Regions from separate parts of the Homo sapiens genome. Here region 1 is linked to region 2. Evidence: promoter capture Hi-C in human tissues and cell types (Jung and others, 2019). All regions are on one chromosome and are shown on one strand. The core of a region is centred on a gene start or on the middle of the fragment in contact, and the rest is flanking DNA. Distances in the headings are between cores, read along the strand shown. Region 1 overlaps MICU1 (mitochondrial calcium uptake 1). Region 2 holds the start of PLA2G12B (phospholipase A2 group XIIB).

Region 1 (6,509 bases), core at 3,598-6,097, 440 kb after region 2:
GCGGGGAACTCCAAAACCACATCCCGCCATTAAACCAAAAATTAAGCTGCCAAAAATTGTCAGTCAACTTGTTCAGATCTCTAGAATCTAACGAAAGACTTAAAACAACCAGGAGAACGCTTTAAAAGAAAGAAGCTGCTAAAATTTGTTCACAGAACATTGTATTTTAACTTACCTGGTGACCACCCCAAGTCCCCAGTGCAATGGCAGCTGTAAGGATGGCGGCCCATGTTCCTGACAGAGTTTGCTTGTGTCAGAACGAGCAATGTGGATCATGTTCTTGGATGACTCTGGATGTGGGCATCAACCTGTCTGGTGGCTCCCTAAGGAATCAGCTTTGAGGCTTGCCTTTGTTTCACCTGCTTCAGAGCTTTTAGGGGACTGGGGCAGCATTTGTCAGAAAGATTTAAAGGTAAATAATACTGTAGCAGCTGGGACAAGCAGACAAACCAAATAGCCTGGGAAGGAAGAGGCTTTGTAAGGAGATACATGGGAGAACAAGTGATTTGAAATGCTTCACCATATACAGGGGAGTGTAGAAGGCTTAGGGTTGAATGAATGTTCAGAAGAAACCTTAGAAGATCCTGAGCTTTCATGTCTGGCTGACATTTAAGCCCCATGCAAGCCGGAATCTTAAGGCTAAGAGAGAGTTGTAAATGGTCTTGCTAAGTAAGCATTGAAGAAATGCCCAATACAGAGCCAGTCTGAAAAGATCCGGAGAGTATTTTTACCCCTTTCGCTCCAGGCATTTAAGGAAACCTGTCAAATCACTAGTTGCTCACTAAGGTGAACAGAGACTTGAGTGACGACCTATGACAAAGGTCACAGGTCTTTACAAGAAGAGTTTAATAAAGTCATTAAACAAACAACTACAACCCACAGTAAGTAGCAACAACAAACCCTGAGGAAGGGGAAGAATGCGATTTCGAGAGTTACCACATTATAATATACAAAATGTCCAGTTTCAACAAGAAATTATGCATACATAGAAACAATAAATTACAGCCCAATCACAGAAAGAAAAAAAAAAGAAATAGGGAGTATCCTTGAGGAGGCACGGACATTATATGTACTACTCAAAGACTTTAGATCAACTGCCTAAAGTATAGTTAAGTAGCTAAAAGGATGATGTATGAACTAACAGAAAATTTCAATAGATACATAGAAATTGTTTAAAAGATACCAAATAGAAGTTCTGGAACTGAAAAGTACAAGAGCTGAGTTGAAAAATTGACTAGAGGGATTCAACCAGCAAACTTGAGCAGGCAGAAGAAAGAATTAGTGAACTTGAAGATATAGGTCAATTGATATTATCTAGTCTGAGGCAGAGAGGAAAAAGAATGAAAAAAAAAATGCACAGAGCTGAAGAGACTTATACTTTAAAATGTTTATAGTGGTAAATTTTGTTATATGCATTTTACTGCAATTTTTTTAAATTACAAAAATGTAAATGATGTGGTACTGGCATAAACACAGACAATGGAAGAAAATTGAGAGTTCAGAAATAAACCCACACATCTATGGTTAATTGAATTTCAACAAGCATGTAAGACAGTGGTAAAAGGTCATACCATTTCAACAAATGGTATAAGGTCCACTAGATATTCACGTACAAAAGAATGAAGGTGAACCCCCTACTTCACATTATATACAAAATTTAACTCAAAATGGATCAATAACCTAAAAAAAAAGAGCAAATGCTGTAAAACCCTTAGTAGAAAAGTAGGGGTAAATCTTCATGACCTTGGATTGGTAATGAAATATTAAATATAACATCAAAAGCACAAATAATAAAATAGATAAATGGGACTTCAATATTTAAAACTTTTCTGCTTCATAGGACATTATCAAGAGTGAAGGGGCAACACACAGAATAGGAGAAAATATTTGCAGATATGTCTATGATAAGGATCTAATATCCAGAATATATAAAGAACTTCGATTAGAACTCAACAGCCAAATGAGAAATAACAAATTCAAAAATGAGCAAAGGATTTGGATAGACATTTCTCCAAAGAAGATATACAGATGGTCAAAAAGCACATGAAAAGATGCTGAGCATCATTAGGTATTAGGGGAATGTAAATCAAAATCACAGTGAGATACCATGTCATATCCATGAGGATGGTTATAATTTTTTAAAGAAGAAGAGGAAGAAGTATTGGTGAGGGTGTGGAGAATGTGGAATCCTCTTACATTGCTTATGGGAATGTAAATGGTGCTGTAATCGCAGTACTTTGGGAGGCTGAGGTGGAAGGATTGCTTAAAGCCCAGGAGATCAAGGATGCAGCCCAGATCCATGATTGTGCCACTGCATTTCATCCTGTGCGACAGAGCAACCTCCTCCTGTCTTAAACAAAAAACAACCAGCTGAGTGTGGTGGCTCATGCCTGTAACCCCAGCACTCTGGAGGCTGAGGCACGCAGATTGCTTAACTCCAGGAGTTCAAGACCAACCTGGGCAACATGGCAAAACCCCATCTCTACAAAAAATACAAAAATTACCCGAGCATGGTGACATGTACCTGTAGTCCCAGCTACTGGGGAGGCTGAGATGGGAGGATCACCTGAGCTGAGCCCCAGAGGTCAAGGCTGCGGTGATCCAAGATCATATCACTGCACTCCAGCCTGGGTGTCAGAGTGAGACACTGTCTCAAAACAAAACAAAACAAAACAAAACAAAACAAAAACCAAAAACATAGAGCTGCCATATGACCCAGCAGTTCCTCTCCTTAGTACATACCAAAAGAATTGACAACAGGTACTCAAACAGATACTCATACATGAATAACCAAAAGGTGGAAATAACCTAAATGTCTTTGAGCATATGAATAGATAAACTGTGGCATATACATACAGTGGGGTTTGGATCATAATCTGGAAAGATACAATCCCAAAAAATCAAAATTCCTTACCTTGTTATCTTTATTTGGGAGTTAAGTATGGCTTAAGGAGCTGTGTATGGGGGCCAGGCATGGTGGCTCACGCCTGTAATCCCAGCACTTTGAGAGGCCAAGGTGGGCAGATCATGAGATTAGGAGATCGAGACCATCTGGCCAATATGGTGAAACCCATCTCTACTAAAATACAAAAAATTAGCCAGACGTGGTGGCGGGCACCTGTAATCCCGCTACTTGGGAGGCTGAGGCAGGGGAATTGCTTGAACCTGGGAGGCAGAGATTGCAGTAAGCAGAGATTGTGCCACTGTACTCCAGCCTGGCGACAAAACGAGACTCCGTCTCAAAAAAAAAAAAAAAAAAAAAAACAAAAAACAACTGTGTATGGATGCCAGATTGATAAGGGATGAACTTGTGGACTTCATTTTAGGTATCAGTAATTTTAAATGTCAACTTGACTAGATTAAGGAATACCTAGAAACCTGGTAAAGCATTATTTTGGGTGTTAGGGTGAGGAGACTAGTGTGTGAATCTGAGTGGATTTAGATGGGGACGGTCTGCCCTCAATGTTGATGGGCACCACCCAATCAGCTAGGGATCTGGAGACAGCAAATGGTTCTCTCTGAGAGCTGGGGCAGACTTTTCTGCTGCTGCTTTGGATATCAGAAATTCGACTTCAGAAAAGTGTATTATCACAGCATTTATTGTGTGTAAGCATTGTGCGTTTATGTTAAAACGTTGAAACTTCCTCAATAAATGAAGAAATGACCTTTTTTGTACTGCATTTGTGAAAGATAAAATTTCTCAAGATCTCAGCTCTTTGGGCAACTGTGTATGCAATAATGACCCATTGTGGTTTTTAACTTATCTCATGAAAAGACTTAGGTTTGTTCTCAGGGTATTTCAGATGACTGCCTTTATAACTGGGGCACATACGATTACTAACTATAGTGATAGGCGTTTATACATTTCCCCTTTGAGCCATTTCTTTATGAACAGTGGTTCTTCTGCTCAAAGTGTTCTGTCTCATTCTTATGTTTCTCAAATCTTCTTTAAAAATGTAAGCAAATATTTTTAAAGAATTTTTATGTTTTCCAAAATTAGGATTTTAGACTTTAGGGATTTTGATCTTTGGGGATTTCAACATTCGGGATTATGGTGTTCAGTGTGTATTTTGGGGGGATTATGATCAGCATCCCATACAGTGGAATATCATTTGGCAATAAAAAGGAATTAAATATTGATTCATGCTACAACATGGTGAACCTAAAAAACATTATGTTCAGTGAAAGAAGCCAAACCTAAAAGGCCTACGTACTGTGTGGTTAAATGGTAAAAATGGTGAATTTATCACAATCAAAACCAATAAACCTCTACAGGAAAAAATAAGGACAAAGAAAGGCTGTTCCCTATTAATGGAGACTAAAGAGACATGACAACTAAATGCAGTTTATGATTGTGGATTACATCCTTGATCAGGGTGAAAATAGCTATAAAGGAAATTATTGGGACAATTTGCTAAAATTTGAAAATGGACTGGATTTGGCTGGTCGCAGTGGCTTACATCTGTAATCCCAGAACTTTGGGAGGCCAAGGTGGGTGGATTACCTGAGGCCAGGAGTTCAAGACCAGCCTGGCCAACATGGCAAAACCCGTCTCTACTAAAAATACAAAAATTAGATGGGCGTGGTGGTGTGCATCTGTAATCTCAGCTACTCGGGAGGCTGAGGCTTGAACCCGGGAGGCAGAGGTTGCAGTGAGCTGAGATCACGCCACTGCATTCCAGCCTGGGTGACAGAGCGAGACTCCATCTCAAAAAAAAAATAAAAAAGGACTGAATTAGATAATAGTATGTGTATCAATACTAAATTTCCTGGTTTTATTAAATATACACTGTGCTATAAATTATGTATCAGAATTACATTTTGGGGATTTTAGGCTTTAGAAATTTTGATCTTTGGGGATTTCAACGTTTGGGATTATGGCATTTGGGATTGTGACCATTAGAGAATGTCTTTGTTCCCAGGAAATCTATGCTGAGGTACTTAAGCATAAAGTGGCATGATGTCTCCAATTTACTTTCAAAGTGGCATGTTGAAAAAATACAAGGCAAATTGTGTAATATGTAAACTGTTGGTGAATTGGTAAAAAATATATAATAGTACTTTATACTAATCTTTCAACTTTTCTGTGAGTTTGAAGTTATGTCAAACTCAAATTTTGTTACCAACAAAATTAGATTTGCCCTTATGTTACCTTCTCAGCATCAGCATGGCCCGGATGATTGTTAGAAAAATAATGTTAGGTTTGCTTCTTTGGCTTAACTTCCTCATTTCACTCTATCCTTAGACTTTTGTCTGTTTCTCAACCTGTGGCTTCCACTATGTTATTTATTTTAATTATAGCAATTTCCCCATAAGCTTATTACATCATTATTATTAAATATTAGCTTCTATACACATTTATTGTTATGGCTGGTAATGGTCAGCCTTTGGGGACCTATTCTCATTTTGTGTATTTTTTCCTGTTCACATAGTTTACCTTTGCAGTATCTTGGGTAACGTAAAAAATGCAAATTTTTTTCTTTTATTTTGAGAAATTTAAATATTAACTTCCTGGTGGAGGGCTTTGCTGTTCTAGTTCTCATCCAGTAGCTTTTTTTGTCTGAAATTTCTGTTCAGTCTCTTGGTAGAAGATCAAGTGTAGTATGAGATCTAACCTTAATAACATACTGGACTATACTCATTTTTGTTGTCAACTCAAAGAAGTAATCTCTAAATGCTATCAAGCAGGACTATGCCTTCTGTGAGCCGCAAAAGAAGTCAGCAAAGTTCTTCTAAGTAGAAGCGCCATCAAAACCTACTACTGTGTAATTGTTATTCACCTGTGGACTTTAACCTGTCCATAGCTACTGTTTCTTATGAACAAGTAAATATCTAGTAGAGGCTATTTTGAATGAGTTTATTGAGAAGATCATACAAACTGACTTCACGATGATTCGTGTGGTACTTGTATTTTCAGTTGGTTAACCAGTTTTCTTTCCTTTGTGGTTTATGATGGGATCTCCACTAGACAGAGGTAACCCATTGGATAGTTGTGTAACTGGATGCTGGTGTGATGGTGCTTGTTGGTTTAGTTTTCATCATACTCCTCTTGAAGTTATGCCTGCAATGCTGCCTCTTACTTTATGCTTGCATGACATTATTACTTTGATTGTGCTTTATTGGTTTGGGTTTTTAAAATCTATTTTTTATACTCAAAATAATTCCTTAAATATTTTTGGTGGTCTAGAACTTGTGGAAATTAGTTTCAAGTCTAACTTTTTGGTGGATCCTTTTCAGTTTTTGAAAATATATTCAATGTCACAACTAAGTTTATGCTTTGGCTAAGAATTCAGAAAACAGAGTAAGTTTGTTTAAACACCCAGGAAGAGACCACTTGCCAGGCAGACAATTACCAAAGCTGAGAACTAACTTTCTTTGTGAGATTTATAGATTAAAGAAGAGAAATATATATTTAGAGTAAAAACTAAGTTGTAGGAGACAGTTTCATCAAATAGCTGACATCTAGGAGCCTCCATTAAAGTAACAGTAGATATGATTAAATTGCCGAA
Region 2 (6,413 bases), core at 1,530-4,029:
GTATATAATACCCAAAAGAATCGAAAGCAGGGACTTGAATGGGTATGTGTACACCAGTATTCATAGCAGCAGTATTCTCAGTGAAGTATTGATACATACCACATGGATGAACTTAAAATTATACTAAGTGAAATCAGCTGGACACAAAAGGACACATATTATATTATTCCATTTATATGGGGTACCTAGAATAGGCAAATTCCTAAGAACAGAAAGTAGAATAGTGGCTGCCAGGGGCTGGGGAAAAGGGGAATGGGGACTTATCACTTAATGGGAACAGAGTCTCGGTTTGGGATGATGAAAAAGTTCTGGAGATGGATAGTGGTGATGGTTGCACAACAATGTATGAATGTTCTTAATGCCACTGCATTGCACACTTAAAAATGGTTAAAATGGTAAATATGTTATGTATATTTTACCACAATTTAAACATGTATAAAGTTTCAAGAAATGGGGGGACAATACTATTAACAGCTCTAGTAACAGTTGCATCAGCAAAAAGATCCTTCTCAAAACAAAAAAGTATCAAATATTTCTTGCCATCTTACAATTGCCAAGAGCAACTGACATCACTTTCAGTTACACTGATTGAAAATTAGGTTGTTAGAAGTATAAACTTTGATGACCTAATCAATGAATTTTCAGAAAAGTCAGAAAAATCCTATGATCAAAATATTGCATACTTATAAAGTAATATATAGTATTATATAAAATTATGACACCAATTTTTAAAAAATTTATGTATATATTGATACTCATGTATCTCTATTAACCTTATTATATTTTACAAATAATAAAACATTTTTTAAAGGAAAAAGCTTTATAGTTAGCTTTTTTTTTTTGAGGCAGAGTCTCACTCTGTCACCCAGGCTGGAGTGCAGTGGCACGATCTTGGCTCACTGCAACCTCCACTTCCCTGGTTCAAGCAATTCTCCTGCCTCAGCCTCCTGAGTAGCTGGGATTATAGGTGCACGCCACCACGCCGGGCTAATCTTTTTGTATTTTTAGTAGAGACGGGGTTTCACCATATTGGCCAGACTGGTCTTGAACCCCTGACCTCAGGCAATCCACCTGCCTCGGCCCCCCAAAGTCCTGGGATTACAGGTGTGAGCCACCGCGCCCAGCCTATAGTTAGTATTTTAATGGCAAGTTCCCCTGCTTTTGGAAAAGGAGCTCTGCATTTGCAGTTTTGTTTTGGTGAAGCCCTACAAATTATGTAGCTGGCCCTGGTGCCAGCTTTCCCATTGATAGCCTGTCCAGCTTTGATCAAGTCACTTACCCTCTGCATCAGTTTTCTCACCCCCAAATGGGACTATTTAATCTGCTTCATGAAACTGGCATGAACATTTGTGCATATGTGCATGTGTATGTGTGTGCCTCTGTGTATGTGCATATGCATGAAAGTGGTTTGAAAAAGTATAGATGCTTTAAAATATTGGGTGGCATTGTTGTGACTATGAATAATTTTTAACCACTGCCCTTCCTGGAGTCTGAGTCTTCAGCCAAACACATTTACTGAAAATGAAGAAATTAATTCATTTAATTCATTATTTTCCATGGGGCTTTCCAGACAAACATTTGAGAAAGGAGCTAAATGATTCATGTGGTCCATAAAGGTATCATTTTTATAGACTGGTGATTATTTTATTATTACTATTTTTTTGAGACAGAGTTTCGCTCTTGTCGCCCATGCTGGAGTGCAATGGCGTGCTCTCGGCTCACTGCAACCTCCGCCTCCTGGGTTCAAGTGATTCTCCTGCCTTAGCCTTCCTAGTAGCTGGGATTACAGGCGGCTGCTACCTTGCCTGGCTAATTTTTGTATTTTTAGTGGAGACGGGGTTTCGCTATGTTGGTCAGGCTGGCCTCAAACTCCTGACCTCAGGTGATCCAAACGCCTCGGCCTCCCAAAATGCTGGGATTACAGGCATGCACCACCATGCCCGGTCCTAGACTAGTGATTTTATAGATGGCATTTCTTCACACGACTAAAAGCAGTCTAAACTGAAAACGATGCCAAAACACTAGACTTCAGTCAACAGTCTTAAAAGCCTACACTCCCAAATAGACTATTTGATAAACCCTCTGACTTCTAAGAAACTCAAAGGAAAAACACCACCAGGAGAGCCGAGTGCCCCCAGAATTGTCCTTGGACCATCTGTAGATCTTGTCTTATGATCCACTTATGCTGAGTGTAAACAGAGATACTGCTGTAAATAGAAGCCAAAATGTCCCTGCACTCAGATGGCTACATCTGGGAGCTCTGCCAAATTAGAGGATTTATGCGTCAGAGCCAGGTGGGTTCCACAGCAGAAGCTGGGGTCTCAAATCTGAACTTCTGCTTAACACACACTTGGTACCTACTCTGACACTATCGTGACCCTTGGTAAAGTGACTATTAATTCCTACCGCTGGGGCTTTCCTGGGCCCTGTACACATCCTCCTGACTCTCCTTGGAGACTATGTAGGTAGCTGGCTGAGGGGTGTGGCTAGGACCTTCGGTCAAGCTCTTCTATCAAGAGGCTGGCCCTGAAGAGCCACACTTGTAACTGATCAACAGCTTAACAAGCTGGTCGGGGTAGAACTCCGAATCCTTCACCGTTCCTGCGTCTCAGAAGCTGGCTAACATCTCCCTCCCTCCAGGGTGGTAGAATCCACTTTGAAATGTTCTCTCTCCCTGGCCCTCCCACTCCCTAACCTTTGCCCTCTTTCTAATTGCCCTGATCTCATCCCAACCTCCATAGCTATGTTTAAAGTCCACCTCTGGGGAACAGACAGATTGAATGTTCCAGATAATCCCTTTCCCAGTCCTGCCTGACATCTGGGTAGGGGGTTTGTCCCTGGAATTCTGGGACACTGGCTGGGGTTTGAGGAGAGAAGCCAGTACCTACCTGGCTGCAGGATGAAGCTGGCCAGTGGCTTCTTGGTTTTGTGGCTCAGCCTTGGGGGTGGCCTGGCTCAGAGCGACACGAGCCCTGACACGGAGGAGTCCTATTCAGACTGGGGCCTTCGGCACCTCCGGGGAAGCTTTGAATCCGTCAATAGCTACTTCGATTCTTTTCTGGAGCTGCTGGGAGGGAAGAATGGAGTCTGTCAGTACAGGTGCCGATATGGTGAGTGTGCGGTTTCTCTTTCTGTAAAAACTGTTGCTGGTGGACCCATGGACAGCCCCAGAGAGGTCACGATCTGTCTTGCACTTTTTCCTGTTATCCACTTAGAGCTGCCAGATTTAGCAGATAAAAATGTAGGACACCCAGTGAAATGTGAAATCCAAATAAACAACAAATAAGTCATTAGTATAAGTATGTCCAGTGAAATATCTGGGACATACTTATCCTGACAAATTCTTCGTTGTTTATCTCAAACTCACATTTCACTGAGCTTCCTGTATTGTATCTGGGAAACCTTCCCTGGGCCATTTTAATGAGTTTGTTGTGAGGCAGTTCTTAGGAAAAAAGGGTACCTGGGGTGGGAAGAAGGAGGGTGGGTATGAGAGGCCTCTGTGAGGAGTTCCCAGGGATGAAAACTGAAGCCGAACATTCAGAGAAAAATCTGCCATGGGGCAAAACCACCTCCTCAGCTGCTCTGTGCTCAGCTTGGAAACAAATTCTCCCTTCCCCCTGCTGCAGTTCACACCGTCCTCCCAGCTCTCAGTCCCTGACTGGCATCAATTTGCTGGACTTTCTCAAGGGAGCTGTCCCTGCCTGCAGCCTCGGCAACGACAGGCATGCTGTGGAGAGGAAGGGTTCGTGGCTCACCAGGGATCCCGGGGCTGTCCCCTGGACTTGGCGCCAGATGCAGATTTGTGAGCTGGCAGGAGCACTTCCCCTACCTTGCCTGAATATGGCTGGGGGTACACAGATATAAGGTGCACACCTGGCTGCCGGCACAGAGCCCCTGGTCCCAGGGGCCCTGGAAGTTAATGTAAGGGGAGCAAAATGTGGAGCCCCAGGCCTTGAAGCTGGGTGGCATCGTGTAATTGCCAATGCGCATGAAAACGTTTTCCAAAGCATGCACAGTCTCAGGTCTCAGGTAGCATTAGTTTTATGGTTTAATTTATCAACTATCTCATCAAGGGATTAGAAATGAAAATGGTGAGTCAATTTAGCCTAACAGGAAAACACATTTGAGAAATATTTTCTCCAAATACTCAACAGAGAAAAAGTCAGCTTTGAAGAGATGCACAAAAAAACTACATACTTCCCGGACTCACCCTTAAGTCTCTCTATTCCTTTTTGAGTGGGGAAAATCGCTTCCTTATACACTAAGAGTGACTAGGAGGTAATGGTTAATCATTGCATCAGGACCCAAAGTTTTGCAGCATAGATGTTTTAACAATCTATGGTTAAAATCTATGTTTTAACCATCTATGTTTTAACCATCTATGCTGCAGCTTCTTTGTGAAAGTTTCACAGAGAAAAATGCCTGGTCTGTTAGGACCCACCTGGCCCTAAAACCATGTATTTGTCCAAGGCAGTTGGACCAACGCAGAGGCCTTGCCACTGGATTATGCTCACACTGTTTGCACGGATGGGACAGGGAAGGGGTTGACTCACTTCAGACATTGGAATCAACACAGGTGTTTTCCTTCCTAAAGGCAACACAGGACTAGTATCTGTAGTTCAGCAAATAGGCAACAGCAGGAATTTTTATTAGGAAATCAAGAACCAAATCCTATTCTTCCTTCTCTAGCAAAACAGCATTAAAAGACTTAAGCAAATTTTAGTTGCGGAGCCTCTGGCTGGGCAGGGTGGAAGCCAGCAGCAACTGGTGGGGGATGGGAAGAGTAAATAGAAGAGAAAGGCAAATAACTCTTCTCACTTTGTGTAAAACAACCTGCTCAAAGAGGGGCCTGAAAAACACTTAGAAAAATAGGCGGTTATGCCTCCTTACCTTGGAACCCAGTAGAGCCAAAAACCTGGCGGCTGTGCCCAAAAGAGTACAAAATACCTTCTCAAACTGATTGTGAATCGAGCAATCTTTTGAACAGACAACACCTAACAACGAGTCTGCTCTTTTGTAGTTTGCTTTGTGACACATCTCTCATGCACCGTGCTCGTCTTTTAAGTAGTGGTTCTCAAACTCACCTGTGAATTGAAGCCCCTGGAGGGCAGATTCAACCAGATCTCTGGGCCCCACCCCAGGTGTTTCTGATTAGTAGGAGATTCTGGGCTTAGGAGATCCTCCTGCCTCAGCCTCCCAGTTAGCTTGGGCTACAGGTGTGCGCCACCATGCCCAGATAATTTTGTAACTTTTTGTAGAGCAGGGAGTCTCACCATCTTGCCCAGGCTGGTCTCCAACTCCAGGGCTCAAGCAATCCTCCCAACTTGGCCTCCCAGATTGCTGGGATTATAGGCGTGAGCCACGGCACCAGCCAGATTTTACCTTTGATAGGTACTAACTACTATTTAAAACAGTGGGTTTCTAACTTGGGTACACTTCAGATCACCTGAGGGGCTTTAACAACACCTGGCACCAAATCAATTAAATCAAAATTTCTGTGGGTTGGCCCCAGACATCAGTATTTTAACATTTTTCCCAGGTGATTGCAAAGCACAGCCAAGGTAAAGGGGTGCCATTCTATGACGTCATTCTTAGAGAACTTCAGCCCACAGGTTAAATTATGCAGGCAGATAAAACTGTGTATGTATCCTGGTAGCCCATGATAGCATGTCAACATTGTTTTCCGTGCTTCTCATATCTAAAGTAATTTGTTCTCATGCCAACACACAAAATCTGTACTTGTCAAACAACTGGGCTATAAATATGACAAGATCCAGCGTGTGTCAATGGCATACCTAGCACAACTGTTATTAAGGAGTCTCTACCAGCTGGGTGCGGTGGCTCATGCCTGTAATCCCAGCACTTTGGGAGGCCAAGGCAGGCAGATCACGATGTCAGGAGATCGAGACCATCCTGGCTAACACGGTGAAACCCTGTCTCTATTAAAAATACAAAAAAAATTAGCCGGGTGTAGTGGCGGGTGCCAGTAGTTCCAGCTACTCGGGAGGCTGAGGCAGGAGAATGGTGTGAACCTGGGAGGCAGAGCTTGCAGTGAGCTGAGATCTCACCATTGCACTGCAGCCTGGGCAACAGAGCGAGACTCCACCTCAAAAAAAAAAAAAAAAAAAAAAAGGAGTCTGTGCCAATGCAAACAAGATTTCCTTGAGAATCGCTTCCAAAATATAGATAACCTTTTCCACCTCCAGAGATTCTGATGCAGTAGGTCTGTGGTGAGACCTTGGAAGTGCACTTTTAATGGGTAGTCTTTGAACCAGACTTTGAGAAATAAGCATAGTAATGGAAAAATCATGGGTTTGAATTTAGGAGAAAATATCCCATTGCTGGTGACCTTGGGTGAGTTATCTGACTCTCTCAACCTTAGTTTCCTCAAATATGTAAAAATAATGTTACTA

What was found. The method cuts DNA at HindIII sites, captures the fragments that hold promoters and counts their contacts. A contact is called where the count stands out against the background at its distance.
Region 1: a fragment that was not itself captured here is called in contact with the fragment with the promoter of PLA2G12B in region 2 in 2 of the 25 tissues and cell types used here (dorsolateral prefrontal cortex and lymphoblastoid cells).

What each region holds. Positions count from the first base shown.
Region 1 is chr10:72,508,863-72,515,371 of GRCh38, reverse strand. The region is part of intron 5 of MICU1 (mitochondrial calcium uptake 1); the gene reads left to right. Among named protein-coding and RNA genes, the nearest start is that of MICU1, 110 kb to the left of the region's middle. The HindIII fragment of the contact is 4,645 bases long and covers 2,525-6,509 here.
Region 2 is chr10:72,951,172-72,957,584 of GRCh38, reverse strand. PLA2G12B (phospholipase A2 group XIIB) reads left to right here and starts at 2,779. Exons shown (of 4, transcript NM_032562.5): 1 at 2,779-3,110. The coding sequence starts at 2,900. The HindIII fragment of the contact is 10,065 bases long and covers 1-5,891 here.